Linked DNA regions of Homo sapiens: region 1 is linked to region 2. Evidence: promoter capture Hi-C in 16 types of primary human blood cells and fetal thymus (Javierre and others, 2016). All regions are on one chromosome and are shown on one strand. Each heading gives the region's core, a stretch centred on a gene start or on the middle of the fragment in contact. The rest is flanking DNA. Distances are from core to core; before and after follow the strand shown.

Region 1 (4,544 bases), core at 1,598-4,097, 270 kb after region 2:
AGATACAAAAATTAATGGGGTGTGGTGGCACACGCCTGTAGTCCCAGCTACTAGGGAGGCTAAGGTGGGAGGATCACTTGAGCCCAGGAAGTTGAGCTTGCCACTGCACTCCAGCCTGGGTGACAGAGCAAGATTCTGTCTCAAAAAAAAAAAAGGGTAAGCAAATAACTTATTCTGCAGGATGGGAGAGAGGAGCGGAAGGGCACAGCATGGAATAAATTAAAAAAAAAAAAAACTAAGAAAAGAAATATTTGAAAGATGAAGGTCCCCATTTTATCCTCACTATAGCTCCAGGCAGGGGGTCTCTACTTCAACTTCTGAAATAGCTCCCACACCTATATACAACCATCAGTTACCACAATAACCTGCCTTGCTTTTGTGGCTCCAGAATATTCCAGCAGCCTTGTATCTGGTGAGCTTTTTTTTTTTTTTTTTGAGATGAAGTCTCACTATGTCACCCAGGCTGGAGTGCAGTGGCGTGATCTCAGCTCACAACCTCCACCTCCCAGGTTCAAGCAATTCTCCTGCCTCAGCCTCCAGAGTAGCTGGGATTACAGGTGCTTACCACCACGCCCGGCTAATTTTTGTATTTTTAGTAGAGACGGGGCTTCGCCATGTTGGCCAGGCTGGTCTCAAACTCCTGACCTCAGATGATCCACCCGCCTCGACCTCCCAAAGCACTGGGATTACAGGAATGAGCCACTGTGCCCAGCCTCTGGTGGGCTTTTCTAGGCTCCTCCCATTCTAAGTCATTCAGCACTGGAAACAAATTAAGTTGCCTAAATTGCCTCATTTATCATGCTAAAGAACTTCTGTGGCTCCCTATTATTCTCAGAACACTGATTATCAGGATGGGTGTTTAGGAACATATCATCTAACCTCTCTGAGCCTCAGTTTCCTCATCCATATTAAGAAATGAGTCTTGAAGCATAACTCAAAAGCTTGAGGATTAAAGATAACATATGCCTTGTACCGTACTTTTTCTAAAGGTTATGTGCTCACTAAAAGTTAGTCCTCTTTCTGCCTGTCTCTACACACCCAGCTCGGTAAGGTATCTTAGCTTAAGAAGGAAAGAGCAAGTATTTCTAGGATTTTTTTTTTTTTTTGAGACAGGGTCTCACTCTGTCAATCTCCGCCTCCCAGGCTCAGGTAATCCTCCCACCTCAGCCTCCCCACAGGCACACACCACCACCATGCCCGGCTAAATTTTTGGAGACACAGGATTTTGCCGTGTTGCCTGGGCTGGTCTCGAATTCCTGGATTCAAGCGATCTGCCTGCCTCGGCCTCCCAAAGTGCTGGGATTACAGGGTCTTAAGTCAGGTCTTAAGAACACAAGGGGGAAAAAGGCTGCTCATCTATGGTTGTGTGATGGCCAGGAAAACATTTCTCACTCACAACTGCTCCTTTCGTCCACAGTCCTCCATACACACAGACCCCCTAGCCTTTATTTTATTCTATCCTTTTCGTCATTTGAGGAAGTGATATTCAAATTAAATTTAAATAAAGTTACACTGTGAAAAGTCTCACTCCCATTTTCTCCCCCTTTAGCCCAATTCCCACCTCACTCCCACCAACCACTTTATCAGTTTCTTGAGTATCCTTCAAACTTTTTATGAAAAAGCTGTCTTTAAATAAAGCTAATGTTTTACAGGTGTTAGCAAGGTTCGGGGTGGGGGAGGGTGGAAGAAGTAGTGGACTAGGTCCTATTCAACCTGGTTTACCCTAAAGCAGTGTCCTTCGCTCACTCAAAAATAACAATAATCATATGTTGGGCACCTGTTATAAGTCAGATGCTTAATATTAACTACCTTCAGCCCTTAGTATGCACCAGAAATGCACTAATGCTTTACACAATTGCCCCCTTTGATCTCCACAACAATCTTAAAAGGTAGGTTACTAATTCTCATCTTCATCTTACAAGTGAGGAAACTGAGGCACAGAAAGGTCACCTGCCCAAGCAAGAGAGAGGAGCAGGGCTTTGAACCCAGGCCTGACTCCAGAGTCCCTCTTAACCGTGACGCTCTACACTAGCAAACCAGATATAGTCTCTGCACCCGCTGGAACTCAGCCTAATGTGGGAGACGGGCGAGAAAAAGGCAGACAACAAAGAAATACGAAATTATAGACTAAGAAAGTAATGTAAACGAAACGAATTCGCGGCTGTGACAGAATAACAATGGGGACCTACTTTAGAAAGGGGAAGGAAAGAGTGTCAAGGAAAGGCCTGAGAAAATGACATTTATGAAATGCTCGGGAACCATTTGGGGGCTGCAATGATGACCCCCTCCCCCACGCCCAATACACGGGATAAACTCGAGGCCCACAGAGGCTAAAACAAACACGACAGGGTCCCCCAGACGTGTAGACGTGGCGCAAAGAAGGGAGGATCCAGAAACTGGGCCCAGGGTTCGTACACGCCATCAGTGTCCACAGCAGCCCAGCCCCGCTCGGCCCCTGACAAGGGACATCAAGCCAGCTGCTTCCCACGGCCCCGCTGCAGCTGAGAGCGTCCGGGCAGCTCACAGGGAGGCCTTCCGGCCAGCCAAAAGGGCTTTGGCCCGTCCAGCGGCGGCCTGGAAAGGCCTCTTCCCCGGCCCCCCGCCAGCTCCCGCCTGGTCCGCCCCGCCCCGCCCCTCCTGGTCCAGCCTCGTACCTGCACCGCCCGGACCAGGCCCCGGCCGGTCAGCTGGCCCTGCCGCAGCTGCAGCAGAATGTTACCAGGCCGCGGCCGGCCGCCCCATCCGCCCCAAGCCGCCACTGTGGCTGCCGACCGTCTCCCTCGGCCGGCTCCAGACCCAGCCGCTACCGGCGCCGCCGCCATGTCTCCTCGTCGGACAAACAGGAAGCAAGCGGCCTCGGGGCCGCGGAGATTTCTACGGGGCGGCGGAGGGGTCGCCGCAGCGCCCCCAGTGGGCCGTCGGCGGAGGCGCAAGCCGCGTGGCAGGGACCGTGTGCGGCGTGGAGGCTACTGGGAATTGTAGTCCTGCGCGGCAGCGGGGTAGGTGGGAAAAGAGATGTGGCCTTTCCTGCACTGCCGGTTTCTCTGGCCCCCGGGCCCAGCATTTCGGCGAAATCTCCCAAGGTCCACATTCTCCCATTTCTCTCGCCGATTTGGGCAGGATGCAGGCAGCTGGCCAAGAAATGATCCTGGGCTTCAGGTCAGGAGTCAGGCCCTCGAGTCCGCTTCCTGCCTGCTTCTCTCTACACGTGACTCACCGCGGACATCGACCAAGTCATCGCGCTCTGCCACTGCGCCTGTGTCCTCGTCAGGTCACTCCATCTATAGATTCTGGGAGCCTGATCAATCGTAGTTCCTGGGGCTTTCTCTGCGCCCGACACCAAACCATGTCTAGGGGAAAGGGAGGGTGTCTGGGATACAGTGGTGAGCAGAACGGCCTGGGATCCTTTATCACGAAATGCAGGTTACAGGGGAAGACAGCAGATCCATACACAAAGAAACGCAGTCTCAAACTGGATAAGTTGTGTAACTGGGTAGGTTGTTGTGAAATTAAATAATGGAAGGGAAAGGGATTAGTAAATTGTGACATCATATTCTCTGTCAGATGAAAACCCTGTCCTAATTTCTATCCACCAGATAGCATGTTGTCTCTAATACTCATTTTTTCAGCTAACTTCTGTGGCAGGATGGCACTGACTCCCCCCACCCAACACACACACACTTTTTCCCTTCCTAGCAGGGGGCCTGTAATAAAAATGAAAGAGGAGAGCTAAGTGTGATGTAACAGGGAATGGTGAAGATTGTGACTCATAACTAAGATGACTGTAACTTACTGCTCAAACCAGAACACTTTAAAGAATGAAAAGACACAATAAATAATTACACCGGGACGGTAGGCATAAAAGTGACTCTCCCAGGTGAACTGGCACTATGGTTACCATCCTCACACCCCATCTAAAAGGAGTAGACTCACCATCCATCTTCATAGAACTAGAAAAAAGAATCCTAAAAATCATATGGAACCAAAAAAGAGCCTGCATGTCCAAAGCAAGACTAAGCAAAAAGAATAAATCTGGAGGCATCACATTACCTGACTTCAATCTATACAATAAGGCCATAGTCACCCAAACAGCATGGTACTGGTATAAAAATAGGCACATAGACCAATGGAACAGAATAGAGAACACAGTATAAAACCAAATACTTATAGCCAACTGATCTTCGATAAAGCAAACAAAAACATAAAGTGGGGAAAGGACACCCTATTCAACAGCTGGTGATAACTGGCAAGCCACATGCAGAAGAATGAAACTGGATCCTCATCTCTCACATTATACAAAAATAAACTCAGCCGGGTGCAGTGGCTCACACCTGTAATCCCAGTGGCTCACACCTGTAATCCCAGCACTTTGGGAGGCCGAGGTAGTCAGATCATGAGGTCAGGAGTTCGAGACCAGCCTGGCCAACATGGTGAAACCCCATCTCTACTAAAAATGCAAAAATTAGCTGGGCGTGGTGGCATGCACCTGTAGTCCCAGCTACTTGGGAGGCTGAGGCAGGAGAATCACTTGAACCCTGGAGACA
Region 2 (4,033 bases), core at 999-3,498:
AATTGTGTTGCTGTATATACATATGGTATTGACAGTTTTATTTTATATATGCCCGCATAATATTTTTGTTCGCTAATTCTCTTTGATTATATGGGGCCCTGGACCTATTTTCCATGACTAATTTGCATATTTCCTTCAGAACTCTCCCATAGCCCATGCGAACTTTGAATTCTTCTCTAACATGATCCAACTTCAATTAATAAAATAGAGACTCTGGGTGTCTACAATTTTTCACTTTTCTTTTTTAGGATTTTGTGTTCCTTTGTGGTAAACACCTAGAAGAGAAGGAGCATCTCTCTTTTTTTTTTTTCTTTAGACAGTGTCTTGCTCTGTCGCCCAGGCAGGAATGTCATGGAATGACCATAGCATGGCTCATTGCAGCCTTGACCTCCCAGGCTCAAGCGATCCTCCCACCTCAGCCTCCTGAGTAGCTGGGACTACAAGTACAAGCCACATCAGGTGGCTAATTTTTTTTATTTCTTTTGTAGAGATGGGGTCTGCCAGCTCCTGGGCTCAAGAAATCCTCCCACCTTGGCCTCCCAAAGTGTTGGGATTACAGGCGTGAGCCACTGTGGCTGGCCGGAGCACCTCTTAAAACTCTAGAAAGTTAGAAGGTCTCAAAGATAACTTCTTTGCACAATTAGAGATGAACCAGGAAATACCAAATAACTGGCTGCCTATACTTTTTTGTATTCCCTTCAGCCTTTGTATTGCCACACTCATTACAGGAAGAAAACAAATTTAATAGTTATCTGGTATATACTGTTATGCTTCATTTCTTGTTGTTTTTGTTTGTTTGCTTTTAGTTTCATCACAAGAATGTTATGCTTCATTTCTTAACACCTTTCTCCCAGCTAGCAAATTCCTTTAAGGCAATGTGTTTAGTGAGGAAGCAGCCGACAATTTCTAGTACCCCTCTGCCACTAACTTGTAAGATCTTGAAAAGTCAACTTTACCTTTCTATGTTTCAGCTAAAATCACTACCTGATTTGAAATCTTTACTTGATCTCTCAGGCCTTTGTAGTTTTTATACATTCACTCTTCTTCACCATTTTACTGGCTTCAATAACGCCTTTCTGATGACCTCTCCAGGTGACTCTGCTCTTAAGCTGTGGGCTGTCCCCTTCCAGGGAAGACACCTTGGGTCACCGCCCCCAAACAGCCAGGTCCCTCCTTTTAAAGACACACACAACTCCCTAAGTTGATAAAGGTTCTCTCCTTCCTTGCCAACCAGTTCCACTCTCTGTGCCTCTTTTGCTGGCCAGCTCCTGCACCCAAACCTCAGTCTCCCTTTGTCCCCCTTTTCTCTCATCAAACACCTCCTTTTTCCTGTTGCTTCCCCCAAGAGGGGGTGGAGGATGCTTGGGACATAAGTCTTCAGAGCCTTGGGAGTTATACAGCTTTGCAATTCAGCCCCAGTACCCCAAGGACTGCCCCAATCTGAACCAGCGTCTGTACCCAAAGGGCCCTCATTCCTCATCAATCACCTCCTTCCCTCCCAGCAAAGAACTGCTCCAGCCCTGACAGCCTGAGCTTGGCCCCCATGCCTCCACCCCAATCCCCAGGTCCTACCTGCATTAGGGCTCTAACACCGCCTAAGGCCTAACCCAGTTCCACGTCCTGCCATCCTCTCAGCCCATAGACCCCAATCCCGGTTCCCTTCGGACCCAGTGTTCCTTCTCCGCGACCCTGACCACGACCCCACGACCGGCTCCCGCCTGTTCCCCAGGCCTGGAGCGCCACCCCGTGCAGACCCCGGCCAGCCCTGCACTCCCTCAGTGCACCGGCCCCCGCGCCCAGCACCCTCCCCACCCAGCCCGGCCGCCGCTCCCTCCAGCGCCCCCGCCCGCAGGCCTGGGGCCCGCTCCCCAACATGGCGACGGGGACACAAGCGCGGCGGGCGGGGCGGCTCCGGGCCGGGCCCGCTCTCAGACCGTGCCACTCGGTCGCCCGGCGCCATTTTTCCGCGCGGGCCCGGGCGGCGCCTCCTCCCCGCGAAGCCAGCCCGACAAGGACCGCGGACGCCCGGCGGGCCCACCCCTTACGGGCCCGCGCCGCCGTCCCCTCACCTGAGCGCGGCCCCGGCCCTCCCGGGCGGGCCTTGGAGCGCCGGCCCGGGCCGTGCGTGCCCGCCGCCCTCGGTGCGTCCGTCCGTCAGTCCTCGCGTGCGCCCGTCTGTCCCGCCGCCCGCGCCCGGCCGCCCGCAGCCCGACCCGGCAGGGCCTCACGGAGCCGGCGGGGAGGGGGATGGGCCGGACCGGGCCGGGGAGGGAGGGGGAGGGAGGGAGAGAGGGAGGGAGCGCGAGAGGGGGCGGGGCGGACTCGAGGGGCGGGGCATTGCCCACGTGACCAGACGTCCCCGGGAGCGCGAGGTGGAGCGCGCGCCAGCTCCCTTCGGTGCTGAGTGCTTAGTGCTGGGATCTCGTGGGTCTCTGTCGGCTTTCCAGGGCTATTCTCTCGCCAGTGAGTCCCACTTCGGAAGCACACATTGCACAGTCTTTTGCGAGCGCTCTGAGTATCCTTGGACATGGCAACTCCAAGCCTCAGTTTACCCATCTGAAATATGGGGAAAATCATAGTGCTTGTGAAGAGCAAATGGAGGTGGGCTTGGAAAGCACTTGTCACCGTGCCTGACACATACTGTCTAATAATAAGCTTAATGGGATATAGATAAAAGCTTTCATTATTATTTGCCTCTAAATCCCTCTCTTCTTTTTCCCATCATTACCTCCCTAGCAAGCTAAAATGCTCAGTAAATAGAATTATTGATCGAACGAGTGTGGCCCCTCCCCTCTTCCCAAACGTAGAAAGGCCTCCTCAGCACTGGACTTCATGTCTGTCATACAGGCCTGGATTCATATCTGGCTTTCACTCTTTTTTAAAAATTTTCTGTTTTTTCCCACACTACACTGATGTATTTTTTAAATTTTCGTAAGTACGTAGTAGGTGAATATATTTATGGGGTACATGAGATTTTGATACAGGCATGCGATGTGTAATCACATCATGGTAAATGGGGTATCTAGCAACTCAAGCATTTATCCTTTGTGTTACAAATAACCCAATTATACTCTAGTTATTTTAAAATGTACAAGTAAATTTTGTGTGTGTGTGGTTTTTTTTTTGTTTTTTGTTTTATTTTTGTTTTTTTGAGACGGAGTCTCACTCCGTCGCCCAGGCTGGAGTGCAGTGGCGCGATCTCAGCTCACTGCAACTTCCGCCTCCCTGGTTCAAGGGATTCGCCTGCCTCAGCCTCCTGAGTAGCTGGTACTACAGGCGCATGCCACCACGCCCAGCTAATTTTTGTATATTTTTTAAGTAGAGATGGGGTTTCACCATATTGGCCGGGCTGGTCAGGAACTCCTGACCTCATGATCCGCCCGCCTCTGCCCCTCAAAGTGCTGGGATTATAGGCGTGAGCCACCGCGCCCGGCCAATTGTTTTTTACTGTAGTCACCTTCTTGTGCTAGCAAATACTAGGTCTTATTCTTTCTAACTATTCTTTTGTACCCGTTAATCATTCCCACTTCCCACCTACCTCCCCATTAATCTTACCAGCCTCTGGTAACCCTCCTTCTATTCTCTATCTCCATGAGTTCAATTGTTTTAATTTTTCGCTCCTGGCCCGGCATGGTGGCTCACGCCTGTAATCCTAGCACTTTGGGAGGCCAAGATGGGCGGATCACCTGAGGTCAGGAGTTCAAGACCAGCCTGGCCAACATGGTGAAACCCTGTCTCTACTAAAATACAAAAGCTAGGTGGGCATGATGGCGGGTGCCTGTAATCCCAGCTACTCAGGAGGCTGAGACGGGAGAATCTCTTGAACCTGGGAGATGGTGGTTGCGGTGAGCCTAGCTCGCGCCACTGCACTCCAGCCTAGGTGGCTGAGTGAGACTCCGTCTCAAAAAAAAATAAAAAATAGTTAATTTTTTGCTCCCACAAATAAGTGAGAACATGTGAAGTTTGTCTTTCTGTGCCCGGCTTCTTTCACATAACATAATGACCTCCAGTTCCATCCATATTGTTGCAAATG

The links. The method cuts DNA at HindIII sites, captures the fragments that hold promoters and counts their contacts. A CHiCAGO score of 5 or more calls a contact.
Region 1: the fragment with the promoter of TRPC4AP here is called in contact with the fragment with the promoter of NCOA6 in region 2 in 1 of 17 cell types (fetal thymus); the score reaches 5.5 in fetal thymus.

Annotation. Positions count from the first base shown.
Region 1 is chr20:35,089,960-35,094,503 of GRCh38, forward strand. It overlaps TRPC4AP (transient receptor potential cation channel subfamily C member 4 associated protein), which reads right to left and starts at 2,848. Exons shown (of 19, transcript NM_015638.3): 1 at 2,655-2,848. The coding sequence starts at 2,822. RefSeq lists an enhancer at 534-1,093 and a silencer at 2,620-2,749. The HindIII fragment of the contact is 3,956 bases long and covers 940-4,544 here.
Region 2 is chr20:34,823,403-34,827,435 of GRCh38, forward strand. It overlaps NCOA6 (nuclear receptor coactivator 6), which reads right to left and starts at 2,249. Exons shown (of 15, transcript NM_014071.5): 1 at 2,070-2,249. RefSeq lists silencers at 1,716-2,155, 2,166-2,355. The HindIII fragment of the contact is 10,135 bases long and covers 1-2,653 here.